Regions from separate parts of the Homo sapiens genome. Here region 2 is linked to region 1. The links are contacts of gene promoters, found by promoter capture Hi-C in human tissues and cell types (Jung and others, 2019). All regions are on one chromosome and are shown on one strand. Each heading gives the region's core, a stretch centred on a gene start or on the middle of the fragment in contact. The rest is flanking DNA. Distances are from core to core; before and after follow the strand shown. Region 1 overlaps ILF3-DT (ILF3 divergent transcript). Region 2 holds the start of ICAM3 (intercellular adhesion molecule 3).

What was found. The method cuts DNA at HindIII sites, captures the fragments that hold promoters and counts their contacts. A contact is called where the count stands out against the background at its distance.
Region 2: the fragment with the promoter of ICAM3 here is called in contact with a fragment that was not itself captured in region 1 in 1 of the 25 tissues and cell types used here (dorsolateral prefrontal cortex).

The regions. Positions count from the first base shown.
Region 1 is chr19:10,646,216-10,652,893 of GRCh38, forward strand. ILF3-DT (ILF3 divergent transcript) reads right to left here. Exons shown (of 1, transcript NR_024333.1): 1 at 5,647-6,678. Among named protein-coding and RNA genes, the nearest start is that of ILF3-DT, 4.3 kb to the right of the region's middle. RefSeq lists enhancers at 6,139-6,641, 6,642-6,678. The HindIII fragment of the contact is 3,105 bases long and covers 854-3,958 here.
Region 2 is chr19:10,336,269-10,342,946 of GRCh38, forward strand. ICAM3 (intercellular adhesion molecule 3) reads right to left here and starts at 3,356. Exons shown (of 7, transcript NM_002162.5): 1 at 3,271-3,356; 2 at 2,414-2,680. The coding sequence starts at 3,346. RefSeq lists enhancers at 1,962-2,710, 2,996-3,095, 3,316-3,365, 3,459-4,206, 4,207-4,954. The HindIII fragment of the contact is 6,056 bases long and covers 1-3,708 here.

The DNA.
Region 1 (6,678 bases), core at 1,156-3,655:
GCCTGTAATCCCAGCTACTCGGGAGGCTGAGGCAGGAGAATCGCTTGAACCCAGGAGGCAGAGGTTGTGGTGAACCAAGATGACACCATTGCACTCCAGCCTGGGCAACAGAGCAAAACTCTGTCTCAGAAAAAAAAAGAAAGAAAGAAAAAGATTTGTGGTACGATACATATAGCATAAAATTTGCCATCTCCATCTCTTTCTTATTTATTAAGCCACTGGGTCTCACTATGTTACCTGGGCTGGCCTTGAGCTCCCGGACTGAAGGGATCATCCCGCCTCAGCCTCCCAAGTAGCTGGGATGACAGGCACTCGCCACTGTGCCTGGTTTATGTTTAATTTTTTGAGGAACCACCATAGTGTTTTCTGGCTTCATGCTTTGGCTCCACTTCTGGGTTGGCTTCACTCTCTGCCAAGTTCCTTTATCTGGGTATATTCCCTGCCTCCAACCACACTGTGCTGTGATAGTTAATTTTAGGTGTGAACTTGGCTGGATTAGAAAATACTCAGATTTGAGCTGTGATGTGGTAAAAATAAGACAAAGAAAAAAAAAAAAACAGTGGCTGGGCTCCGTGGCTCACGCCTGCAATCAGCACTTTGGGAGGCCGAGGTGGGCAGATCGCTTGAGCTTGAATTCGAGACCAGCCTGGGCAACATGTGGAAAGCTTGTCTCAACAAAAACTATGAAAATTAGCAGGGTGTGGTGGTCATGCACATGTTGTCCCAGCTACTCAGTAGGATGAAGTGAGAAGGTCACTTTAGCTCAGGGGGTGGAGGGTGCAGTGAGCTGAGATCACACTACTGTGCTCCAGCCTGAGCGACAGAGCAACACGTCTGATAAAGCATTATTTCTGGGTGAGCGCCATCCAACTTGCTGGGGCTCCGACAGAACAGAAAAAGGAGAGAAAGCATTTTCCTCCTCAGAACTGGGACACTCTTCTCCTCCTGTCTTGACACTCCAAGACTTATACCAGTGATCCCTGGTTCTCAGGCCTTCGGCCTTGGACTGGGAATTACACCATTGGTGTCCCTGGCTCTGAAGCTTTAGGATTCAGACTGAGCCTCGCTACTGGCTTTGCAGGGTCTTCAGCTACTGGAGCTGCTGGCTTTTCAGGGTCTGCAGTCAATGCATGTGGTAGGACATCTCAGCCTCCATGATCACATGAGCCAATTATTCTGCTAAATCCCCTCTCATCTACCTACCTCCTATTAGCTTTCTCGGAGAAACCTAGTAATACACACATCATACATTTTCCTGGCCTTTTTTTTTTTTTTTTTTTTTTTTTGAGATGGAGTCTTGCTCTGTCACTCAGGCTGGAGTGCAGTGGCACGATCTAGGCTCACTGCAAGCTCCGCCTCCCGGGTTCACGCCATTCTCCTGCCTCAGCTCCTGAGTAGCTGGGACTACAGCTGCCCGCCACCACCCCCGGCTAATTTTTTTGTATTTTTCGTAGAGACAGGGTTTTACCATGTTAGCCAGGATGGTCTCGATCTCCTGACCTCATGATCCGCCTGCCTTGGCCTCCCAACGTGCTGGGATTACAGGCATGAGCCACCGCACGCAGCTACATTTTCCTGGCTTTAAGATGAGAAGTCTTCTCTTTTTTTGAGACGGAGTCTCGCTCTGTCGCCCAGCCTGGAGTGCAGTGGCATGATCTTGGCTCACTGCAACCTCCGCTTCCTGGGTTCAAGCAATTCTCTGCCTCAGCCTCCCGAGTAGCTGGGATTACAGGAGCCCGCCACCATGCCCGGCTAATTTTTGTATTTTTAGTAGAGATGGAGTTTCACCATCTTGGCCAGGCTGCTCTTGAACTCTTGAACTCTTGATCCACCCACCTCGGCCTCCCAAAGTGTTGGGATTAGAGGGCCAGAAAAGTCTTTTCTTGCTCCTAAGTCTCAGGCCTGGAGCTCACTGACTCTGACCAGCCTGATTATGATCATTTACTCATTGTAAATCATTGAGTCAATCATTGTAGTCAAGGTGTGGGCCTAGTTTGGGAGTCAGGCAGCAGGGACCTGCCATCTAGACTACAGTTTGATCAAGGGAGAGGAATGGTTCCCCAACAACTGTGGTCATCCCACAGTGTCCATCCCAGAGTGGTCACCCATGTCCACCCTGGGGGGGGGCAAGAAGGGAACAGGCATAGGACAAAAAGCTTTCGAGAGGGAAGTTAACTGGGTGTGATTGGGAGAGTGGGTGGAATCTTTCAAGATGAGGAAGACAATGAATAGAGAGGCTGTAAGGACAGCAGAGTCACTGAGAGTGACAGGACCTGTCTAGACTGACAGATTACAAGAGGGGGATGACCTCAATCTTCAACCAATGAGTGGGAGGGAGGGAAGAGAGAAGGAATAGCCAGATGACAGATGATGTCACTAAGGCAAGGAGGAGAGAATGGTGTTGTATACAGGGTTTGTGACCACTGAGTGGTGGAAGGACAAGGGCAGAGGTGCGAGGTCGGGTCAGGGTAGCAGTTCAGCAAGACAGGGCAGATGGCATCTTGTGTCTTCCATCCTTTACGGTGACCAGGGACTAGGAACCTGATGGATGGGGTTTATTGGAAAGTTGGGCTGAAAACTTTTTACTTCAAAAAATTTTTTTCTTTTTCCTTTTTTTTTTTTTTTGAGACGAAGTCTCACTCTTGTCCCCCAGTCTGGAGTGCAATGGTGCAATCTCAGCTCACTGCAACCTCCGCTTCCTGGGTTCAAGTGATTCTCCTGCCTCAGCCTCCCGAGTAGCTGGGATTACAGGTGCGTACCACCACGCCCAGCTAATTTTTTATATTTTAAGGAGAGATGGGGTTTCACCATGTTGGCCAGGCTGGTCTCGAACTCCTGACCTCAAGTGATCCACCCGCCTCGGCCTCCCAAAGTGCTAGGATTAGAGGGTGAACCACCACACCTGGCCCTTTCTTTTTTTTTTTAGACACAGTCTCCCTGTCACCCAGGCTGGACTGTAGTGGCTTGATCTCGGCTCACTGCAACCTCCACCTCCCAGGTTCAAGCGATTCTCGTGCCTCAGCCTCCCGAGTAGCTGGAATTACAGATGCCAGCCATCATGCCCAGCTACTTTTTGTACTTTTAGTAAAGACAGAGTTTCACCATGTTGGCCAGGGTGGTCTTGAACTCCTGACCTCAAGTGATCCACCAATCTCGGCCTCCCAATGTGCTAGGATTACAAGTATGAGCCACTGCCCCCAGCCTTCTTTTTGTTTTTATTCTTGAAAACTTTTTTTTTTTTTAATGTAGAGATGGGGCTGGGTGCAGTAGCTCATGCCTGTAATCCCAGCACTTTGGGAAGCCAAGGTGGGTGGATAACTTGAGGTCAGGAGTTTGAGACCAGCCTGGCCAACATGGCAAAACCCAGTCTCTACTAAAAATACAACAATTAGCTGACCATGGTGGTGTACGCCTGCAATCCCAGTGACTTGGGAGGCTAAGGCAGAATTGCTTAAACTCGGGAATTGGAGGTTGCAGTAAGCTGAGATTGTTATCACTGCACCCTAGCTGGGACTACAGAACGAGACTCCATCTCAAAAATAAATAAATAGATAGATAGATAAAAAACATAGAGATGGGGTCTCACTATGTTGCCCAGACTGGTCTTGAACTTCTGGGCTCAAGCAATCCCCCTGCCTCAGCCTCCCAAAGTGTAGGATTACAGGCATGAGCCAGCATGCCTGGCCAAGACAACATTTTTCAGGAAGTTCTGGTTGGATGGGGCACCCGTTCAAGAGGTAACAATCATAACCATTACTGTTTTTGAAGCTTTAACTCCATGCCAGGTACTGAAGCAACCCCTTGATGTTGAATTAACTCCGAATCAGTCCTCCTCCAAATCAAACCCTAGGAGGTTTGGGTTTGATCCAAAGACTGTGCTTGTCATCATGACCCTATCCGCCCTTTACTGTGTTTGGGGTCCCTGGGGCAAGAAACGCCTTAGCGGAATGAGATCTTCAAAAGCGTTTTAAGTAACCTTAGGCTCTCTGGAGTTGGGAGTCAGAAAACTAGTAACCATCCTCGTTCTGCCATTTGGCAGTGCTGTTAGCTCAAGCAAGTCACTAAAACTGACCTGTTCCGAAAAAAAGCCAGTCTAGGCTTTGTTATTAACATTCGTTATTATCACAGTGACCTTCAACAATTTAAAGCTTTAACCAATTTTTTGGTTTTGTTTTTGTTTTTTTGAGACAGGGCTTCTGTTGCCTAGGCTAGAGAGCAGTGGCCCAATCTCAGTTCACTGCAGCCTCAACCTCCTGGGCTCAAATGATCCTCCCACCTCAGCCTCCTGAGTAGCTGGGACTACAGGTGTGTTCCACCATGCCCTGGCATTTTAACCAATTTTATCTTAGTGCATGCCCCAATCATCTTACCAAACCTTTCTTCAATTTCCAGCTCTATTTGTGAGACAGATCTGAGGCACAGGAAATGAAATTAAAAAGCCTGGTGCAGAATAACTTATCAATTTATGTGAAAAACAAGAATATGATTATGCACCTCTGAAAATAAAACTCTACTGTAGTTACACAAAAAACTGTACAATGGCTGGTCGCGGTGGCTCACGCATATAATCCTAGCACTTTGGGAGGCCGAGGCGGGTGGATCACGAGGTCAGGAGATCGAGACCATCCTGACTCACCCGGTGAAACCCAGTCTCTACTAAAAATACAAAACATTAGCCGGGCGTGGTGGTGGGCGCCTGTAGTCTCAGCTACTCGGGAGGCTGAGGCAGGAGAATGGCGTGAACCCAGGAGGCGGAGCTTGCAGTGAGCCAAGATCGTGCCACTGCACTCCAGCCTGGGAGACAGAGCAAGACTCCGTTTCAAAAACAAAAAACAAAAAACAAAACTGTACAATGGCTTCTAAGAGGGAGGGAACTGGATGTCTGAGGAAGACTTTGTGCTCTCATGTCTTTGGCACTTTTTTTTTTTTTTGAGATGGAGTCTCACTCTGTCGCCCAGACTGGAGTGCAATGGCACGATCTCAGCTCACTGCAACCTCTGCCTCCCGAGTTCATGCCATCCTCCTGCCTCAGCCTCCCGAGTCGCTGAGACTACAGATGCCCACCACCACGCCCGGCTAATTTTTTTTTGTATTTTTAGTAGAGACGGGGTTTCACTGTGTTAGCCAGGATGGTCTTGATCTCCTGACCTCGTGATCCGCCCACTTCAGCCTCCCAAAGTGCTGGAATTACAGGCGTGAGCCACCGCGCCCGGCGTCTTTGGCACATTTGACGTATCATGTGACTATGCTACCTATTAAAAATCCACAGTAAAATGTAAATAAAATAGAAAAGCAGAGGGTACAGCATGCACTCATTTCTTTTTTGAGACGGTCTAGCTGTGCCATCCAGGCTGAAAAGTGCAGTGACTCCATCACGGCTCACTGCAGCCTGGACCTCCACAGCTCAAGTGATCCTCCCACCTACTCCTCCCAAGTAGATGGAACTATGGACACAGGCCATCACGCTCAGCTAATTTTTGTAGAGACTGGGTTTTGCCATGTTGCTCAAGCTGGCCTCAAACTCCTGGGCTTAAGGGATCCTCCAGCCTCGGCCTCCCAAAGTGTGGGGATTACAGGCGTGAGCCACCATGCCCGGCTAGGCACTCATTTCTGTAATTGTTGCAGGAAACAAAGGACCAGAGAGACTGACACGGGAAACAGGAGGATTTATTTAGATGTACACCGGCTCAGTGGATTTGTATCTGAAAAGCTGACCATTGAACAAAGACTGAGTGTGGTTTTTATAGGCAAACTTACAGAAGCAAAACAAAAGCAGTTAATGATACAGTCACAGGTCATGTAATCTATAGCATAACTGCTGACTTAGCATAACTTGTGGCTTTGCACAGCTGTTGGCCTTGCAGCTGTGTCAAAAGAAAAACAGAGTCTACAAATCTTACTAAATACAACCATTGGCAAACAGTCATATTTAATGGTTCAGAAAAGGAGAGACAGTAAAGGAATTTTTCTTTTCAACTTTGCTCCGGAGGAGGCTGTCTGGAGCCCATTCCTTTGGCCTCGACTTTTCAGTGTTATAACTGTCCTTGAAGTAAGCTGGCTAAGCAGAGGAAAACTTGTTCTTGTTTTCTTTTTAACCCTTACCCCCTGCCACATAATCACATCTTTACACTTCTTTTTTTTTTTTTTTTTTTTTTTTAAGATGGGAAGTCGGAGTCTCGCTCTGTCGCCCAGGCTGGAGTGCAGTGGTGCCATCTCGGCTCATTGTAACCTCTGCCTCCCAGGTTCAAGTGATTCAAGCCATTCTTGTGCCTCTGCCTCCTGAGTAGCTGGGATTATAGGCGCACACCACCACACCTGGCGAATTTTTTTTTTTTTTTTTTTTTGAGGCTGAGTCTCACTCTATCGCCCAGGCTGGAGTGCAATGGAGCAATCTCGGCTCACTGCAACCTCCGCCTCCTGGGTTCAAGCGATCCTCCTGTCTCAGCTTCCTGATTAGCTGGGATTACAGGCGCCCTCCACCACACCCAGTTAATTTTTCTATTTTTAGTGGAGACGGTGTTTCACCATGTTGGCCAGGCTGGTCTCAAACTCCTGACCTCAAGTGATCCGCCCACCTCAGCTTCCCAAAGTGCTGGGATTACAAGCGTGAGCCACCACGCCCAGCCAGGAAACCCATTTTCAACACCTCCTTGCTCTTTTTTTTTTCTGAGACAGAGT
Region 2 (6,678 bases), core at 2,106-4,605, 310 kb before region 1:
ATGAATATTAAAAATTCCTGTTTATGGCCAGACGTGGTGGCTCACGCCTGTAATCCCAGAGCTTTGGGAGGCCGGGGTGGGTGGATCAAAAGGTCAGGATTATTCAGTTCTCTCCAATCAGGTTCAGACACTCAGGGCTTTCCTGGTTCACCAGCCCTGTGGCAGCCTCTCAAGATACTCCGGCACAGTCACAGGAGACTTGACACTCCCAGGCTGGGTGCCCTCCCCAGTACACCTACAAAACGCTGGGCCTCAGGCCGGGCACTGTGGCTCATGCCTGTAATCCCAGCACTTTGGGAGGCCAAGGTGGACGGATCACCTGAGACCAGGAGTTCAAGACCAGCCTTGCCAACATGGTGAAACCCCATCTCTACTAAAAATACAAAAATTAGCCAGGCATGGTAGCACGTGCCTGTAATCCCAGCTACTCAGGAGGCTGAGGCACAAGAATCGCTTGAACCCAGGAGGCAAAATTTGCAGTGAGCTGAGATAGTGCCACTGCACTCCAGCCTGGCGACAGAGAGAGACTCTATGTCAAAAAAAAAAAAAAAAAAAAAAAGGCTGGGCAAGGTGACTCATGCCTGTAATCCCACCACTTTGGGAGGCCGAGGGAGGCGGATCACTTGAGGTCAGGAGTTTGAGACCAACCTGGCCCATATGGCAAAACCCTGTCTCTACTAAAAATACAAAAATTAGCCGGGCATGGTGTCACACGCCTGTAATCCCAGCTACTAAGGAGGCTAAGACAGGAGAATCACTTGAACCCAGGAGGCGGAGGTTGCAATGAGCTGACATCGCGCCATTGTACTCCAGCATGGGGGACAATAGCAAGACTGCGTCTCAAAGAAAAGAAAAGTCAAAAAGTAGGCCAGGCATGGTGGCTCACGCTTATAATCCCAGCACTTTGGGAGGCCAAGGCGGGCAGATCATTTGAGGCCAGGAGTTTGAGACCAGCCTGGGCAACATGGTGAAATCCTGTCCCTACTAAAAATACAAAAATTAGCTGGGCGTGTTGGCATGCGCCTGTAATCCCAGCTACTCAGGAGGCTGAGGCAGGAGAATCGCTTGAACCCGGAAGGCAGAGGTTGCAGTGAGCCAAGATTGCGCCACTGCACTCTAGCCTGGGGGACAGAGTGAGACTCTGTCTCAAAAAAAAAAAAAAAGAAAAGAAAAGAAAAAAAAAAGTAGCCAGGCCTGCAATCCCAGCTACTGGAGAGACTGAAGTGGGAGGATTGCCTGAGCCCAGGAGTTTGAGACCAACCTAGGCAACATAGGGAGATCCTGTCTCTAAAATAAAGGTATAAAAAAGTGTAAATGTAAAACCTCCATTTGCCTACTGCTGACTGAAAGGGGTACCCCCTTTTTTGCTTAAGAGACAAGGGTCTTGCTTTTTTGCACAGGCTGGAGTGCAGTGGTGCAATTATAGCTCACTACAGCCTTGAACTCCTGGGCTCAAGCGATTCTCCCACCTTGGTCCCCCAAGTAGCTGGGACTTCAGGCATGTGCCACCATGCCCAGCTAATATTTTTTATTTATTTTTGTAGAGACGGGGTGTCCCTATATTGCTCTGCCTGGTCTTAAATTTCCGGACTCAAGCAATCCTCCTGCCTTGGCCTCCCAAAGTGTTGGGATTATTGTTGGGGCCAGGCGCAGTGGCTCACACTTGTAATCCCAGCACTTTGAGAGGCTGATGTGGGCGGAACACCCCGTCTCTACTAAAAATACAAAACTTAGCTGGGCATTAGCTGGACCTGGGAGGCAGAGGTCGCAGTGAGCCGAGATTGCACCACTGCACTCCAGCCTGGGCTACAGAGTAAGAGACGCCATCTCAAAAAAAAAAAAAAGCTTGTTGGGGCCGGGCGCAGTGGCCCATGCCTGTAATCCCAGCACTTTGGGAGGCTGAGGTGGGCGGATCGCCTGAGGTCAGGAGTTCAAGACCAGACTGGCCAACATGGTGAAATGCCATCTCAACTAAAAATACAAAATTTGCTGGGTGTGGTGGCGTGCATGTGTAATCTCAGCCACTCGGGAGGCTGAGGCAGGAGAATCACTTGAACCCAGGAGGCGAAGGTTGCAGTGAGCCGACATCGTGCCACTGCACTCCAGCCTAGGCAAAAAGAGCGAAACTCTGTCTCAAAAAAAAAAAAAAAATGCTTGTTGGGGCCCAAGTTAATTGATTTCACAACTGCTGCCTTGGCATGAGATTGAGATGCGTCTCTATATCTCTGTCTCTGTCTCTGTGTCTCTGTCTCTGTCTATCTTTGTATCTCACACACAAATGTCCAGGTCTGAGCTCTGGGTCAGAACTGTGGTCCATTCTTTGCAAACTGAGGGTCCCCACTCTCCTGAGCCATTGGCCACTTGCCCACACCACTACCCAAGACCAGTCCCACCTCCGGACACGTCGACTCACTGTACACGGTGATGTTAGAGGAGCCTGTTATCTGAGAGCCATTGCAGTACACTGAGCAGAGGATCCGACTGTTGCCAGTCACGTTGCTGAGATTGAAGGCTGCCCAGCCCATGCCACTGGCCACCAGCTCCTTTGATAGGGACGTCTCCAAGGCGATTTTCTCAGAGCTGGGACAATCAGTACTGCAGTTCACAAACAGGGACCCTCCAGCAGAGAGCACAGGGTTCTGGGGCTCCACCCGCAAAAGGAACTCCTGCCCCTGGACACCTTCAGGAACATGAAGAAGTCCTGGTGTTTGTTTCCTTGTCCCCCAACCCACGCATCAACAGGCCCCACCATTTAACACCTCTCTCCTTGTGCCGAGACAGAAGGGTTCCTGCCTTCATGGTCCAGTGGGAAAGGTAGAATCCATCAGAGACCGGGGAGAACTCAGAAGGAGGCCAGAAGAGGCTCTGATCCAGCATAGGAGGAGGTGAGTCAGGGAAGGCTTCCTGGAAGCGGGGACCATTGCAGCCCGAAACTGAAGGCTAAGTAGGAGTTAGCAAGTGAAAGGGACAGGTGATCCTGGCAGAGGGAAGCACATACGCAAAGGGCAAATTTCAGGAGTTCAGATGGAGCAGGAAGCATGAGGGGTGTGTGTGTGTGTGTTAGGGGAGAGGGATGGCGTACAAGCCTATGCTGGGGCCTGACCACCTGAAGGCTGAACTAAGGAACCAGAACTTTCTCCCGAGGATACAGAGTCAGCGGCCAGGTCGCAGTGTGGCAGGATGTGAACAGCGTTGCGTTCTATTCCTCTACCCTCTACTGATCCCCAAAACGCAGCCCTCTCCAGCCCTCCCCGGCTTGACTGGTCTCACCTGGGGTCAGCAGACAGCAGACCAGCAGAGTCCAGCAGGCCCTGGGCCACAACACGGATGGTACCATGGTGGCCATTCTGACAGAGGAAGGTGCCTTCCTGAGGTGCCCGAAGGGCAGGCAGGGGAAAAGGCGGGGCCTCCCACTGCGACGGAAGCACAGCGGTTAAGATTGCAGAAGTCTGGGGACTGCACCTTGCCCAGGCCTGTGGGTGGAAGGGGATGCTGTGGCCCTTGGGGGCCAGGGTGGGGGACCCAGACGGGGCTCTGCAAAGTGGCCAGCACTGCTGAGTCTCCCCCAGGGAATGGGCTGGTCCCAGTTGCACTGCTGGCCCCCATTTGAATTCACAGGAAATGCTAACTAAACTGGTTTCTTTTGTTCTCAGCACTGGGAAGCCTGGGTGGGGGGGATGAGGCATCTCCTTCTGGCTGAACTTAGGTGGGTAGGGGAATATTCTGTCCCCAGAGAGGAAGTTAATGGGGAAAACTGTAGGCACCATTGTGTAGATGTTAAGGTGGGATTTCGAGGAAACATTAAAAAACAAAAACAAAAACAGAAACAGAAGCAGAGTCTTGCTATGTTGCCCCGACTGGTCTTGAACTCCTGGCCTTAAGATGGCCTCCTCTCATCTTGACCTCCCAAAGTGTTGCGATTACAGGCGTGAGCCACCACGCCTGGCCACCTTTGAAGATCTTGAGGATACCTCCCTATCTTTGAAGATCTTGGGGATCCCCCATCCCCTGCACAAAGAGCTAAGGTAGGTGATTTGGGGACAGCTGAGTCCCTGAGCCACTGTCTATCCAGGATTCTACTTGGTTTTTGTTTGTTTGTTTTGAGACAGAGTCTCACTCTGTCACCCAGGTTGGAGTGCAGTGGCGGGATCTCGGCTCACTGCAGCCTCTGCCTCCCGGGTTCAAACGATTTTCCTGCCTCAGCCTCCCGAGTAGCTGGGATTACAGGCATGTGCCACCACGCCCGGCTAATTTTTGTACTTTTTGGTAGAGACGGGGTTTCACCATGTTGGCCAAGCTGGTCTCAAACTTCTGACCTCAAGTGAGCTGCCCGCCTTGGCCTCCCAAAGTGTTGGGATTACAGGCGTGAGCCACTGCGCCCGGCCTTCCAGGATTCTACTTGTAACTGGCCTTTACCCCATCCTGTTGTCCCCTTGCCCACCCTTCCAGGCAGCTGGTCACTGCATTCCAAGGGAAGGCGCCAAGGGGACCAGGTGGGACCCCCACCTTTGACCTGCCTCTGACCTCAGGCCTCTGACCTGCCTTCTGGGCTTCACATCTGAGCTCCAGAGAGAGAGGCCTTGTTGAGAGCCTTGATGGGGCCCTGCACTCACCCACTTTCCCCAGACCTTGAGGTCACAGCACCTCCTCTCTCATCTAGAGCACCCCCACCTTCCTAAGCAGGTCCCTCCTCTATTCCTCTACCTTCCGAACAATCCATTTCCCACCTGGTGTTGAGAGAGCAGCTAAAACCCAAGTCTAGTGTATTTGTAAACAGCAGGGACCAGTAGCATGGGCCTGGTGCCTGTAGTCCCAGCTCCTTGGAAGGCTGAGGTGAGAGGATCGCTTGAGCCTGGGAGGTCAAAGCTGCAGTGAGTCGAGATTGTGCCCCTGCACTCCAGCCTGGGAGACACAGTGAGACCCTGTTTCCACAAAAAAAAAAAAAAAAAAAAAAGATGTCGGACTTACTGGCTCACGTCTGTAATCCTAGCAGCACTTTGGGAGGCTGAGGTAGGTGGATGACGAGGTCAGGAAATCGAGACCATCCTGGCTAACACAGTGAAACCCCATCTCCACCAAAAATATAAAAAATTAGCTGGGCATTGTGGCGGGCACCTGTAGTCCCAGTTACTCAGGAGGCTGAGGCAGGAGAATCACTTGAACCCAAGAGGCGGAGGTTGCAGTGAGTGGAGATTGTGCCGCTGCACTCCAGCCTGGGTGACAGAGCAAGACTCTGTCTCAGAAAAACAAACAAACAAACAAACATATATATATAATTTATAATACTTACGTAATAGTGAGACCCTGTCTCTAAAAATAAAAAAGAAAGAAATATTTGTAAATAAGTCATATTTCTTTTTTGTTTTTTGAAACAGAGTCTCACCGTGTCGCCTAGGCTGGAGTGCAGGGGCACAATCTCAGCTAACTGCAATCTCAGCCTCCTGGGTTCAAGTGATCCTCCCACCTCAGCCTCCCTAGGAGCTGAGACCACAGGTACACACCACTGTGCCTGGCTAATTTTCTGTAGAGACGGCTTTCACCATATTGCCCAGGTTGGTCTTGAACTCCTAAGCTTAAGGGATCTGCCTGCCTCGACCTCCCAAAGTGCTGGGATTATAGGCGTGCCCTGCTACACCCGCCAGTAATATTTCTGATAAAGAAGTATTTCTGGGCCAGGTGTGGTAGCTCACGCCTGTAATCCTAGCACTTTGGGAGGCTGAGGCGGGCAGATCACGAGGTAAGGAGATCGAGACCATCCTGGTTAACACGGTGAAACCCCATCTCTACTAAAAATACAAAAAAAAATTAGCCCCGTCTCTACTAAAAATACAAAAAAAAATGGTGGCAGGTGCCTGTAGTCCCAGCTACTCGGGAGGCTGAGGCAGGAGAATGGCGTGAACCCAGAAGGCGGAGCTTGCAGTGAGCCGAGATCGCGCCACTGCACTCCATCCAGGCTGGGCAACAGAGTGAGACTCCATCTCAAAAAAAAAAAAAAAGAGTATTTCTGGGCCAGGCGTGGTGGCTCACACCTGTAATCTTAACACTTTGGGAGGCCTAGACAGGCGGATCCCTTGAGGTCGGGAGTTCCAGACCAGCCTGGGCAGCATGCCAAAACCCTGTCTCTACTAAAAATACAAAAAATCGGCCAGGTGCAGTGGCTCACGCCTGTAATCCCAGCACTTTGGGAGGCCGAGGCGGGCGGATCACGAGGTCAGGAGATCGAGACCATCCTGGCTAACACGGTGAAACCCCGTCTCTACTAAAAAAAATACAAAAATTAGCTGGGCATGGTGGCGGGCGCCTGTAGTACCAGCTACTTGGGAGGCTGAGGCAGGAGAATAGTGTGAACCCGGGAGGCAGAGCTTGCAGTGAGCTGAGATTGCGCCACTGCACTCCAGCCTGGGCGACAGAGCGAGACTCCATCTCGAAAAAAAAAAAAAAAGTACAAAAAAATCAGCCAAGCTTGATGGCACACACCTGTAGTCCCAGCTACTCAGGAGGCTGCAGCGGGAGGATTGCTTGAGCCCGGGAAGTGGAGGTTGCAGTTAGCTGAGATTGTGCCCCTGCACTCCAGCCTGGGCGACAGAGAAAGGTCACCTACACATGTTTAAGGGGCCTCTGCACATATCTCAAGCCATTGACAAGAAAGCAAGTACAGTCTGGATTGCAAACAATGTA